Regions from separate parts of the Homo sapiens genome. Here regions 1, 2, 3 and 5 are each linked to region 4. Evidence: promoter capture Hi-C in 16 types of primary human blood cells and fetal thymus (Javierre and others, 2016). All regions are on one chromosome and are shown on one strand. The core of a region is centred on a gene start or on the middle of the fragment in contact, and the rest is flanking DNA. Distances in the headings are between cores, read along the strand shown.

Region 1 (2,700 bases), core at 105-2,604, 280 kb after region 4:
CCTCTTGGACACATTTCCACACAAAACACTTCTCAACTGTTCTCCCTCCTGCACTCTTCAGGGGCAAATACGCCTCTCCTTTCTGGCGGGTTATTTCTGGCCCTGGGAGTATGCTAGGCAATTCTAAGGATTGCCTTTGAAACAGTCTTTATTCAGCCAAGTACTTCTCACACCCCTAGGTCCTGTCCCCAGGGGTGAGCAGGGTCAGAGGAGGCTGGAGATGGGGTGGGCACAGAGAAGGAGAGTCAAAGATCTGACTGAGGAAGAAGCAGGTGGCCAGCCACCTGGGAGACTTCTGTGTCAGACACGGCGTTATGTCCTGGAGGAAGCCCATTGCGAGGGCTCAGCAAAGTTAACAGCAGGTATGCACCTGGAGACCAAGGAGGGCCTTGGAGCCTGGTGGGCAAAGGTGGCCCTTCAGTGGAATCATTCCCAACTCTGCACTCACCCTAAGCTTTCCAGTAACTACAGAATTCCAGAACCTGTTTGAAAGGATGTAAGATCTATAGCTACATTCTTTTTCTCCCCACTGGTCAAAATCTTACAGGATTTCTAAAGCTGTATTGAGATCTTGCCCAGTGCATTCAGACCAGATGGGAAACAACCCCTAAGAATTCCCCATGCTGGTGTTTGCTGTGTACGTTGGCCTGGGACCTCAAGGCTAGAATGCAACAATAATGACCATGCACAGACAGAACTGTCTCAGCAGCAAATGTCACACGCAGACCCAGAACTGCTTAAATACCAATTTATTGCAAACCAACACCAAGGAGCTGGAATAGCTTTGCAGGCTGGACACCTCACTCTCCTCGGGCCCTGGACAAGGGAAATGAGTCACCCCGCTTTCCTCGGACCTCAGCTGGTGGGACTTAGTGGCTGGCCAAACTGCGGCTGTTGTGTCTAAAAAGAGAAAACAGGCAGGGTGTGCCAGCTCTGGAGACTGGGCCAGTCCAGGGTGGTGGCTCAGGGCAGAGAATCACCCACCAGACAGCGTGGCTCAACGGGAGCAAGGCGCGCAGGGACAGGCTCCACAACCACACCAAGCACCGCAGTGTGGCACCGGGACCAGATGCAAGTGGCTGTTCCTGCCATGGGGCCAATACCCAATACTATCCCTCAGTCATTCTTCCTAGATATTGGTTTGCTGTTTATTAAAGCAGGGCAGGGAGTGGGGAGAAATGCAACACAGAATATAAAATCAGGCAAAACAAACACTAGTCACCATGGAAGTGAATGACTCTCAAAGTCTCCCAAATAACAAGGTGTAGGGCATCTCACACCACTGCATCACTTCTGGAAGACTACCCACAGGGTGGGGGCTGCAATGGGGGCCAACTCGGGAACTATAGAGAAGAGAGGAGACACACACCACAAGACCTCCTTTCATTAGGCAGGAAAGCTCTTGTGGGACAGTGGTGTGCAAATCCTAGGACCTCAATGGGAAGAACTCCAGGAAAAAAAATGACAAGTCTTTCTCAGGACCCCTCATAGATGACAAGAATTCTGCTCCCCAGGGTCGAGATCTCTTTAGAGGGGCTTCACCAGCTCAGTGGCAAATATCAGACAACAAGACTCTCACATTCCAAAGGGGGTATCTAGGGCCTTTTGCTCTCCTGTGATGATCGGAGCAACATGTTTGGACCCACAGAAGACTTCCCAGGAATGCTTTCTTACAAGGGGTGTCAGCCACCACTGTAAACCAGAAACAAACCACAAACTTACTCTCCAAGAGAGCCCCCACAACCCAAGTATCCATAGAGAGTGTGCAGGAGCGGGGACCTTCCCCTGACAATAGGCCCTCTTAGCATCTGCGGGCCTTGATTCTTGCTGGCCGTGCATGGTGCCAGGGTGCACTGCCCTGCTGTGTGGCTTATCCATGCTCTGAGCTTGACAGACAGGCAAATGGACAGTGCCGGTGGCAGCTGAACCATACTCCCGGCGATGGGCACCCAGAGCCCCTGTGAGTACTTGGAACACAGGCCTGAGGACCTGTCTCATAATCTCGTCTTTGCACCTTGGCTGGAGTCAGTCAGCAGCCATGGCTCAGGGCATAGGCTTGGGGGTCCTGAGGCAGTGACCAGTCCCTGGAGAACAGGTAAGATTGGGCCATAAGTTCCAAGGAGCACAGTCTGGCACCTGGCACAGAGGATGGGAAGAGGGGAGTCTTCACTCTCTTCTGGTTCAGTTGTGGTGGGACAGTGTGCCTTCACGCCCCATGCAGAAATTCCTCCTCTCCCAGAAGCCCTTCAAGGTCAAAGCTTCTCAGGACTTGTGGCTGTCGAGCTCTGCTGAGCTGATGGACATGCTGTGGTCTCCTCCTGAGGGCACCAGCTCTCCACTCCTGCCCACACTTTGACACCGTGCACCCAAAGAGGACGTCTTATGGGGAGCCAAGCACAGCATGCCATGCGTGGTGGCCGGGCTTGGTTCACTTCAACAAGAACCAAAGCAAGGTCGCCACAGTCAGAGAACAGAATCCCCGCTGCATCTGGACCTGAGCCCAGAACCTAGGCTTTCTCCGAACAACTAGAACGTGCAAACAGGGCTCCAGTCTCCACTGCTCTGACCATGAGGCTGAGGCAGGCAAAGCACATTTATAAGGGGATGAGCAAGAAGACCACGTGAATGCTCTCAAAAGAGGTCAAGGGGCAAGGAGTTTCCCAGAGCAGCCTCAGGCACAGCCATTCCTTGCTTGCCCTC
Region 2 (2,807 bases), core at 149-2,648, 260 kb after region 4:
CACGCCTGTAGTCCCAGCTATTTGGGAGGCTGAGGCAAGAGAATTGCTTGAACCCGAGAGGTGGAGGCTGCAGTGAGCCGAGATCGCGCCACTGCACTCCAGCCTGGCGACAGAACGAGACTCCATCTCAAAACAAAACAAAACAAAAACAAATAAACAAAAAAACAACTCTCAGCACACTAGGAAGAGAGATTAATTTCCTCAGTGTCACAAAGAGCATCTATCAAAAACCTACTATAAGCATTATACCTAATGGGGACAGACTGAGTGCTTTCCCTCTAAGTTCTGGAACAAGTGAAGGGAATCTGCTCTGACCACTCTTTTTCAACATAGTAATGGAAGTTCTAGCCACTGCAATCAGAAAATAAAAATATATAAACAGTGTCAAGAGTAGAAAGGAAAACATAAAACTGTGCTATTTGCAGGTGACATGATTAACTACATAGAAAATAAAATCCTGAGGAACCTAAAAAAAAAAAATTACTAGAGCTAATGAGTTTAGTAAGGTCACAGGATACAAAATCAACACACAAGTCTATTTCACTTATATAAAGTGACAATGAACAAGAGGAAATATATATTTAAAACATATAAACATATACAATTGACCCAAAGAACATGAAATACTTAGGTATAAATCTAACAAAACCTGTACTGAATCTATGTAATAAAATTATATTATAGAATGCTGATGAACCAAATCAAAAAAGATCTAATACACCATGGTTGTAGATTGGAAGACTCAATATAGTACAGATGAAAATTCTTCCTAATTGATCTACAGGTTTAATGCAATTCTTTTTTTTTTTTTTTTTTTTTTTGAGATAGGGTCTTGCTCTGTCACCCCCAGGCTGGAGTGCAGTGGCACGACCATGGCTCACTGCGACCTCGACCTTCTGGGCTCAAGTAATCCTCCCACCTCAGCCTCCTGAGTAGCTGGGACTACAGGCTCTTGCCACTATGCCCGGCTAATTTTTTGTATTTTTTTGTAGAGACAAGGTTTTACCATGTTGCCCAGGATGGTCTCAGACTCCTGGCCACAAACAATCCTCCTGCCTCAGCCTTCCAAAGTGCTGTGATTACAGCCGTGAGCCACCATGCCTAGCTGGTTTAATGCAATTCTTACCCAAATCTCAGCAAGATTTTTTTGTAGACATAGACAAGCTTATTTTAAAATTTATATGGAAAGGGAAAGACACTAGAATAGCCAAAACGTATGAAAAAGAAGAAAATTCATGATGTCAGGGCTTACCATATAGCGACGGTAATAAAGACAGTGTGGTATTGGTAGAGGAGCAGACACATAGATTAATGAAATAGAACAGAGATCCCAGAAATAGACCTACACAAACATTTGATTAATAATTAAATAAATAATAAAATAATATTTGATGAAGGAGCAAAAGTGGTTTAGAGGAGAAATGACAGCCTTTTCAACAAATGCTCCTGGAACAACTGGACATTCATAAGCCAAATAAATAAATAAATAAATAAACCTCACACCTTATACAAAAAATTAACTCAAAATGGATCATAGACTTAATGTAAAACATAAGCTATAAAACTTCTAGAAAAATAGGAGGAAAACTGTGAGATCTAGGACTAATCAAAGGTATTTTTAGACTTGACACCAAAGCTTGATGAATAAAAAGAAAATTTGATATACTGGACCTCACCAACATTAAAAGCTATTGCTCTGAAAAGACTATGTTAAAAGGATGAACAAACTAATTATAGACCAGGAGAAAATATTTGTAAATCACATATCCAGCAAAGGACTTTTATCTAAAATATATAAAGAATGCTCAAAACTTGATATTTAATGGCCAAAAGACTTGACACAACATTTCATCAAGGAAAATATACATATGGCAAAAAGCACATGACAAGATGCTCAGCATCGTTAGCCATTGGTAAAATGCAAATTAAATCACACAATAAGATATCACCGCACACCTGTTAGAACAGTCAAAATAAAAAATACTGACAGTACCTATAATAGTTTCATAGTGTTACTGTAGTAAATCACCACAAATTTCGTGGCTTAAAACACCACAGATGTATTATCTTACAGTTCTGGAGGTCAGAAGTCCAAAATGAGTTTAATGAGGCTTGTGGCTATCATCCTTCAAAGCCAGCAATGGCTGCTTGGTTGAGTCTTTTTCACTTCACATCACTCTTTTGCCTCCTTCTTCCACATTTAAAGGATTATTGTGATTATATTGGGTCTACCTAGATAATCCAGAATAATATTTTCTTAAGGTCAACTAATTAGCACTCTTAATTCCATCTGCAACCAAAATTCTCCCTTGCATAACTTATTTCATAGGTCTGGAGGATTAGGATGTGGACTTTTGTGGGAGCCATTTTTCTGCCTATCACAATACCAAATGTGAGCAAGGATGCAGAGAAACTGGAGCTCACATATTGCTGGTTGGAATGTAAAATGGCAGAGGCACTCTGAAAAAGTTTGACAATTTTCTATAAAGTTAAACATATACTTAAACATATGACCCAGTAATTGCACTCCTGGGTATTTATCCTAAAGAAATGAAATTTTATGTTCAATTTTAAAACTCTATATATGAATATTCACAGCAGTTTTATTTGTAATAGACAAAAATTGGAAACTACTCAAATGTCCTTCAATGGGTAGGCCATTAAACAAATTGTGGTTCATCCATGTACTATGGCATATTATTCAAAAATTAAAAGAAACTATGATATACACAGCATCTTGAATGGACCTCAAGGAAATTATGGTGAATGAAAAAGCCAATCTCAAAAAGATAAACATTGCATAATTC
Region 3 (2,720 bases), core at 24-2,523, 320 kb after region 4:
CTTAGAGCTCTCTCCTGTGATTAAAGGTTGTGGAGAATTAAATCATAAACCTTTCATCTCTGTGATGCATGGCTCATCACCATACACGGGGAGGTGCTACCCACTGTGTCATTTTGTCTAATTTGAGTTTATTAGACCCTGGGCTGGCAAAGCCCAGGAAACTCACATGACAGATGCTATGTGAATGTATGTTAGCTATCACTGTGCGTTTAGTAGACTGGACTTTTCTTAGGGAAACTGAAGGCAGATTTAATCTTTAGGAAAAAAGAGAATTCACCAAGGTAATAATGTTTGAGTATTCCCTTGAAAACTGAGAAGCTGGCCATCTACAATAGGAACCCCAGGAGAGTCTATGGCTGTATTTATAAAAGAGGTGAAGACATCAGATGTGTGGGCTTCTCTCTCAGGAAGCAGTGTGAACAGGGTTCACCATCCCCAAAGGGAGGTTTCTGCAGAAGAGCTGGGAGAACCTCACAAACAGAATAAGGGGAGCAAGGATGGTGTGCTCAGCTCATTCCGAGGGCAGGAGAAGGAACACACCTCACATCCTAAAGCCGATCTCAACACTCCCTCAAGGATGCTGGTGGGTCTTCCCTGCAACAGCTTTGACTGGCTTGGGTGAAGCCGCCCACCCCTACCCGCCAAGGCCATTACCTGCTTTCCCTTCACCACGTGCTTGGGTACTGGCACCCTGACCTCCAGGTCAGTATAGTCCTGTGACCAGGTGTAGTTCTCTCGGACAGCACCATTGTAACTGTCGGGATTTTTCTGGAACTGCTCCTGAATCCTGAGAAAGAATAAAAAATGTGATCCCAGTCAGCCATGCCTGAGCAGAGGACCCCATGGGCAGCCTAGCCCATGCCACTCCTACATCCTGGAGACGTGACCAACTCAAGTTTCATCTCAAGTTCACTGGCTCTGGCATCTGCAAACTCCTCTTCTTTTCAGGTGATTTCCTTTCTGACCCTCCTACATGGTACCCATGGAAATCACAGGACAAGGGCAAAGCTACAGAAAAGAAACCCCAGTGCAGCATCCTACAGTTTAGGAAAAGTGTCTGTGACCACAGTCAAACCATAGCTGGTACTGCCAGCCTTCACAGTACTGAGATCCAGGCCTGTTAATTAACCAGAGGGCTCTTATTAATAAAATCCTTAGGCTCATGAGTCCTTGGTTTCTTATAAACTGCTTGGCAGGGTCAATCTTTAAAAAAAAAAAAAAAAAAAAAAAAAAAGAGGCCAGGCGTGGTGACTCACACCTGTAATCCCAGCACTTTGGGAGGCCAAGGGCGGGTGAATCACCTGAGGTATGGAGTTTGAAACCAACCTGGCTAACATGGTGAAACCCTGTCTCTACTAAAAATACAAAAATTAGCTGAGCATGGGAGCACATGCCTGTAATCCCAGCTACTTGGGAGGCTTGGGCAGGAGAATCGCTTGAACCTGGGAGGCGGAGGTTGCAGGTTGCAGTGAGCCAAGATCACACCATTGCACTCCAGCCTGGGCAACAAGAGCAAAACTCTGCTCAAAAAAAAAAAAGGCAAAACCACTTCATCCTGCAGCTGCTAAACTTCAATCCTAATCCAACCCCTAGCCTCTATTTTTTCATAGTAAATAAATCACAGCTAAAAGGACTGCATTAAAATTGTATGCATCATTGTTAAGACATAAGCAGTATGTTTAATGAGACAGCCTAAAAAACTCAATCAAGCAAATCTTATTGTATAGGCCTGTTATAAACACAGCACTAAATACAGATAGGCCTACCAAGAAGAAGCTGATGTTAAAAATAAAATATAATATTTTCCATAAAATGTAACAATGCTAATAATATAAACATTATGTAAGTTTAGACTCACAAGTCCATTATAGTGAACTGAAGATCTAAATTACAGACAAAAGCCTAGTCATGGAGAAGGCAGCAGCTATGAACACAGAACATTCCAACAGTAGGTGCATCTCAGTCAACTTCTCCAGGGCCTGCTCAGAGATTAGCAGACAAAACCTGGCAGGGAGACGGCCCCATGGGCTTGTAAACAATGTGTGCACTATGATCTGGTTCACACAGGAAAACACAAAACTACATGTATCTACATCTATATAGATGCACATACAAGACAAGGATTGGGAAGGGGTGGTTCAAGAGGGCAGGCTTTCTCTGGCCAGAGTTCTAAGACAAGAACATATTTACCTACTGTGGGTATGCCCTGCACACTGTCTATGCATGAAGCTGGGCCTCCACCACGGCCTGAGTCCTCTGGGCTGGGCAATAGTGGCTGTTAAGAACTGAATTGGGTCCCCTAAAACGCTATGTTGGAATCTTAATCCCCAGGACCTCAGAATGTGACCTTAATAAAAACAGGGTCTTTACACAGGTGATGCAGTTACAACAAGGTCATTAGGGTGGGCCCTAATCCACTATGACTGATGTCCTTAAAAGGGGGACTTTGGAGAGATGACGTGAAGGCCATGTGGAGACAATGGGGTGATGTGCCTATAGGCCAAAAAACGTCAAGGACCGCAGGCCACCACCTAAAGCTGGAAGAGGAGAGGGAAGATCTTCCCCTAAGACCTTCAGAGGGAACATGGCCCTGCTGACACCTTGATCTCAGACTTCCCCTCTAGGAACTGTGAAGAATCAACATTTTTCGTTTAAGCCGGCCATTTTGTGGTACGTTATTGTGGTAGCCTGAGCAAACACAGTGGCTAAGGAAACTAATT
Region 4 (2,700 bases), core at 96-2,595:
AGGCCCAGCAGCCTCCACTGTGGCCTCCCCGGCTGCTGCCTGCTCCAACTCACTCGGGGCTGCTCTGGGGACCCAGGTGCTTCCTGACCCACTTTTCCTCTTTCCTTTTGACCCCAGGTCCAAACTCTGCCCTGTCAATCATCCCAGGGGCTCCTAGGCTTCCCTACCTGACTACTTCACTGGGGCCAAACCCCGCAGACAATCGTGGCTTAGGGCTGTCTGCCTCTGCACTTGGCCCATGGACTACCTGTGAGCTTTCTCTTGTGTCCTCATTCCTTTAAGGGGGAATGTCCTCGGAGCTCTGTCCTTAGCTCCCCATTCCTCCAGTATGAGACAGGGACTAGGCTTGAGTCACGGGGGACTGTGCTGTGTCACGCCCTGCCATACTAATGGGACCACTCTGCCTGTTGATGGCCGTTGTAGGGCAGCCAACATTTGCCCTGGAGAAGCCTTATGGCAAACACCAGGCACCAAGGTGCACATCCCTGATGGATCCTGGGATCAGTTGACACTCAATCCACCTGCCTTCTGGGTCCTCTGGGCCCTCTGGGTCCATGTGGCAGCTGGAGGTATGGTAGACACTTTTTAAAAAATGAGTTCTGGTAAGAAGAAGGTGATAAATGGCTATTTGTCCACGTTGGGACCCGGAGGGGAGGGATGGCATGCCCTTACATGGGACTCCTACCCCCAGCGGGGCAGCTGGCCACTCTGAGGGCAGTTTTGCACCTGCCTCCTGGCTGGAAAGTGAGTTCCCACTGTGCTGTCCCTCCCTGGGGCCCAGCACGGGGCCCGGCCCCACACCGACCTGAAGAGGTTGGTAGGATGACTGAATGAATTGACGCTGGGATGCAGCAGGGCCCATGGGCAGAGGCTCCAGAGCCTGGGAAGGATGGGGTGGCCTTTCTGTGGCCCTCCGAATTGAGAGAGGTCTCAGAGGCCTGACACCACGGCTTTCCGTCCAGGGTTCCTGGTCACCCGCGGAGGGCTCAGAGCCCCGGTGGACTCGGGGTCCCGCCTTAAGGGGGGTGCCTAGGGCAGAAGGAGGAGGGATGTCGGCCCCCTCAGACCCGCACCCCAGGCCCTCCCCACCACCTTTCCTTCCCTCAGGCCCTCTGTCTTCCCAGTCGCCCCGCCCCCTGCCCCTCTGTCCTAGGCGCAAGTCTCCGGGCTTGGGACGCTCGCCGCCAGCGCCCGCCCGCCTGCCCCGCCCCTAGCCCCCCGCCCCCCGCCCCCCGCCCCCCCGCAGCCCCTCCGTCCACTCTCGGCTCCTCCTTCTCTTCCTCCTCCTCCTCCCCGGGGGTGGGGAGCCGGCTCCGGAAGCCCCGGCGCCCCCGCCCCGGGCCCCGCCAGCGCTTTGGAGACGGCTATCCGCGCGGGAGTGCGCCACGCGGGGCCGGAGCGCCTATTAGCCGCCAGGACCTCGGAGCGCCCCGACCACCCCTGAGCCCCTCTGGCTTCGGAGCCCCCCAGCACCCCTTCCCGGGTCCCCTCGCCCACCCTAATCCACTCTCCCTCCCTTTCCCGGATTCCCTCGCTCACCCCATCCTCTCTCCCGCCCCTTCCTGGATTCCCTCACCCGTCTCGATCCCCTCTCCGCCCTTTCCCAGAGACCCAGAGCCCCTGACCCCCCGCGCCCTCCCCGGAGCCCCCCGCGCGTGCCGCGGCCATGGCGGCCGTGCGCGGGGCGCCCCTGCTCAGCTGCCTCCTGGCGTTGCTGGCCCTGTGCCCTGGAGGGCGCCCGCAGACGGTGCTGACCGACGACGAGATCGAGGAGTTCCTCGAGGGCTTCCTGTCAGAGCTAGAACCTGAGCCCCGGGAGGACGACGTGGAGGCCCCGCCGCCTCCCGAGCCCACCCCGCGGGTCCGAAAAGCCCAGGCGGGGGGCAAGCCAGGGAAGCGGCCAGGGACGGCCGCAGAAGGTAAGAGCCCAGGGCAGGGCGGGGGTGTGGGGGGCTGGCATCTCAGGTGGGAACAGGGGGATTCGGTAGGGTCTGGCCACTCCCCAGTCTGCTAGGGGAGGAATGGCTGGCTTACTAATGCGCACGCGAGCCCAGATGCCTGGAGGGACCCTGTGCTAGGCCGAGGTCAGCGCTGGCGTGGAGGCACATCCAGCACCCGGGCGGCAGGGCCGCTTTTGGGGGCCGGTGGCTCTAGGGTTGGTGCTGTGGTTGTACGGGTCGCTTATCCCCATTCCTCCAGTACGCGACAGGTACTAGGCTTGAGCCACAGGGGACTGTGCTGTGTCACCCCCTGCCATACTAATGGGACCACTCTCCCTGTTGGTGGCACAGCTTCACGTCGTCCCTCCCTCCTGCCTTTGCCCTCCTACTCCAGGAGGTCTCACGTAGGTGAGAGAGTTTCAGGTGGTGGTGAGCACAGGGCTTCAGGTGGTGGTGAGCAATGGGTGGTCCTACATTAGTACAGGAAATTAGATGAGGTGATGCATCACTGAAGCATTTAACCCACGGCCTCTTGCATAATCAGTTGTCAGTAAATCTTAGCTGTTTTCATCGTGGCCCTCTGGAAGGTGGCAGAGGGTCTTGTGATCCCTGTCTCCCAGGAGATTCCAAGGCACCATCCAACATTCCTGATGTCAGCAGCCCCTCCCCTGCCACCCCAGCTCTAGATCTTTCCTGGCTGCTTCCCACACCCTGGGCTGCCTGTGCCCCTCCTGCCTCTGGCTCTCCTTCCAGGCTTGCT
Region 5 (2,838 bases), core at 43-2,542, 300 kb after region 4:
GGCGTGCAGCCCAATTTGTGAGCGAGTCTGCTAACTGGTAACATGTGAGCTGTTCATTTGGAGTCACACCTTAATCTCACTGTCCTGAACTCTTAGCTATGCCTAACCAGCAGCTGGCTAAGGACAGCCAGTTGGTCAATGAGCCTGATTCTCTGAATTTATTAACTCTGTACCCTCCAGAGTAGCATCTGTAAAAATTCAACCTAGCTTTTCATTTTCAATTTACTTGTTTTTGCCTTAGATGTAAGAACAGTGGAGCTCTTGGGAATGACCAAGACCTCAAAGGGCCAAAGCTCAAGTGCCCACAGAGACGATCTCTGAGCAGTATGGAAAATGCTCAGGAAAACCCATCTGCCCCAGCAGCTGAAATTAACAACCTCACTGCTTAAGTGTAAATAGGCTTGTTGGTCAAAAGGGGCATCACTGCAGGTTTGAAGTCCACCTGGGAGCCCTACACACAGGTGCCCAAACTTACCAAAACGCACTTCCCGGGCTCGAGACTCCAGAGAGAACTCTCAGTGTTGATCTTGTGGGTGAGCTTCCCTTCCATGAGGACGCGCTCCCCATTTTCCTCCAGCATGGCCACACGAATGGAGCTGCTGCTAAGGGCCACTGAGACCTGGGGACACAGCAGAAGAAAATCATCTCTCCTATCAGGGTGACCACTGGTGTGCTGTACGGTGGGAGTGGTGATGGTTTCCAAGGTACCTGACTGCACACTACAGCGCTGTCATCAGGCTCACCAGGCATCTCAGTGAAGAAAACCATACCAGCCTAATTTATACCTAGAGCAACCTGAAGATGTCAGCTCATTTAGTAAATCCACCAGAAAATCTTTCTCAGCATAACTGGTAACGTAAAATGCTGTGGTGGAAGCTGCTGTGACCCAATCTTCTTCTCCCTTCTCCAGTTAACGGAGACCAATTGTCACAGCAAAAAGTGAGCAGAGGAGACAAGTGGTATTTCTTCCTTGCCTCCCCTTGTGGCTACCTGGGAGACGCAGGAGCCCAGCCCTGGACCACAGCAACCAAGAAAGCTGAGGGGGCTGCACACCCTGAATTGCTCACCCCAGGACTGCTGTACAAGAGACAAGCACCACCTCTTCCTTCCATGAGCCACTGCACTGCCTGGTTGACTATAGCCTGGTCTTCATCCAAGAGTATGAGACCAACTCCTTTGGTTTTGGAAGGCAGCTATGCTCACCAATATACCACCAACACTCGCACATGGTTTTGCATTTTGTCTTGGTTCTTTACAAAACCAAGCCTCTAAAAGCCTCAGCTCACCCTCCTCCCTCTGAGCCTGTCCTAGGCAGAGACTGGCCCCATGGCCTTCCCCACCGCCCTAGGAACACCTATCCCTGCCCCACCACTTGTCCGTCTCCAGAACTGGACTGGCAGCTGTGGGAGTAGGGTTCCTTTTACTTCATATCATGTATTCCAGCCAGCAGTCTCCAAAGCAGGGTATGCATACCCCAGGAGGTTCACAGGTCAGTAATTAGAAGAGGAAATAAAACAGAACTTCCATTTACATTTTGTATCTGTATAATGTATGCATTAAGAAGACACTGGGATCAAGTACTTAAAACTTTTTTCTAATAGGTATGTGGAATAAAAATAATTTGGAAGCTACTCTCCATGTCATTTGGTAGATGGCTCATTAAACGCTTATAAAATGATTGGAAAAAAAGACAACCCAAACTGATAGATTTTCCAAACTGGAGTTTAGTATTTCCAATGAAATACAATACCATAACCTAACTGTAGTTTAAATATTCGTAAATAAAAAATGGAAATGGGAGAAATGATGTGCAGGAGTCACCGCTGTCAGTTTTTCTTCTTTTTCTTTAAGAGACACGGCCTCACTGCATTGCCCAGGCTGGAGTGCAGTGGCGTGATCCCAGCTCACTGCTGCATCAAACTCCTGGGCTGAAGCAATCCCTCCACCTCAGCCTCCCGAGTAACTGGGACTACAGGTACGTGCCACCATGCCTGGCTAATTTTATTTTTATTTTTTGTAGAGACAGGGGTCTTGCTGTTGCCCAGGCTGGTCTCGAACTCTTGGCCCCAAGTGATCCTACTGCCTCAGCCTCCCAAAGTGCTGGGATGACACATGTGAGCCACCACATCCAGCCCATCAGATAGTTACTAAATGAAAGATAGTTCCTGAGCCATGCAGTGAGGGGAGAAGGTGGCAGAAGGCTGCCCACTGGGGGACACAGCGAAGATATTCTGCTAACCACAGGCGGCTCTGCCAGGTTCACATGCAGACTCCAAGGAAGCATCCTCTCATGAGATCGCAGTTCCACTTGCATGACCTTTCATAGGGGAATTTACCACGGAAAAGGGTATTTACTTGGCTAGTCCTATTGAACAATAGGCAACTGAGCTTCACTCCCTACCTTCTAACACCATGAGGAACGTGAGCAAATGGAACAACAGATCCACTCACTCCTGAAATGATCCAGACACATGTTGGGCCAAATCATGTCTAACCATGAACTTGTGTGCAATGGAAACACGACACAGAGGGCCCAAGGCTCCTCAGCCTGCCTTCACAAGAACAAGCTCACTTAACAAATATAATTCTCCCACCCAGCTCTATATAACATAATAATTTCCAAATTTGGGGAAGCTTCTCACACTGCCTACCCAGGGGAATGAACCAAATCATCAAGGGAGAAAACCAGACAAGAAATGCTTCCAGAGGTCCCAGGTGAAGATGTCACACTGGGAACAGACAGCCATCTCTCTGACCTCTTGTGAACTGCAGGCATAATAGGCATGAAGAGAAAAACCCCAGACAGTGAAAATGGGGGAAGAGGGAGGCCAGGAACAG

Evidence for each region. The method cuts DNA at HindIII sites, captures the fragments that hold promoters and counts their contacts. A CHiCAGO score of 5 or more calls a contact.
Region 1: a contact is called between a fragment that was not itself captured here and the fragment with the promoter of AEBP1 in region 4, in 1 of 17 cell types (M1 macrophages). The highest score is 5.5, in M1 macrophages.
Region 2: a contact is called between a fragment that was not itself captured here and the fragment with the promoter of AEBP1 in region 4, in 1 of 17 cell types (M1 macrophages). The highest score is 7.1, in M1 macrophages.
Region 3: a contact is called between a fragment that was not itself captured here and the fragment with the promoter of AEBP1 in region 4, in 1 of 17 cell types (M1 macrophages). The highest score is 6.4, in M1 macrophages.
Region 5: a fragment that was not itself captured here is called in contact with the fragment with the promoter of AEBP1 in region 4 in 2 of 17 cell types (M1 macrophages and M2 macrophages); the score reaches 7.4 in M1 macrophages.

What each region holds. Positions count from the first base shown.
Region 1 is chr7:44,382,857-44,385,556 of GRCh38, forward strand. It overlaps NUDCD3 (NudC domain containing 3), which reads right to left. Exons shown (of 6, transcript NM_015332.4): 6 at 1-2,700. Among named protein-coding and RNA genes, the nearest start is that of CAMK2B, 59 kb to the left of the region's middle. The HindIII fragment of the contact is 1,804 bases long and covers 453-2,256 here.
Region 2 is chr7:44,363,988-44,366,794 of GRCh38, forward strand. No RefSeq gene overlaps it. Among named protein-coding and RNA genes, the nearest start is that of CAMK2B, 40 kb to the left of the region's middle. The HindIII fragment of the contact is 472 bases long and covers 1,163-1,634 here.
Region 3 is chr7:44,426,917-44,429,636 of GRCh38, forward strand. It overlaps NUDCD3 (NudC domain containing 3), which reads right to left. Exons shown (of 6, transcript NM_015332.4): 3 at 655-787. Among named protein-coding and RNA genes, the nearest start is that of NUDCD3, 62 kb to the right of the region's middle. The HindIII fragment of the contact is 3,476 bases long and covers 1-2,720 here.
Region 4 is chr7:44,103,000-44,105,699 of GRCh38, forward strand. AEBP1 (AE binding protein 1) reads left to right here and starts at 1,346. Exons shown (of 21, transcript NM_001129.5): 1 at 1,346-1,919. The coding sequence starts at 1,667. The HindIII fragment of the contact is 6,426 bases long and covers 1-2,700 here.
Region 5 is chr7:44,403,965-44,406,802 of GRCh38, forward strand. It overlaps NUDCD3 (NudC domain containing 3), which reads right to left. Exons shown (of 6, transcript NM_015332.4): 4 at 476-619. Among named protein-coding and RNA genes, the nearest start is that of CAMK2B, 80 kb to the left of the region's middle. The HindIII fragment of the contact is 2,679 bases long and covers 1-2,632 here.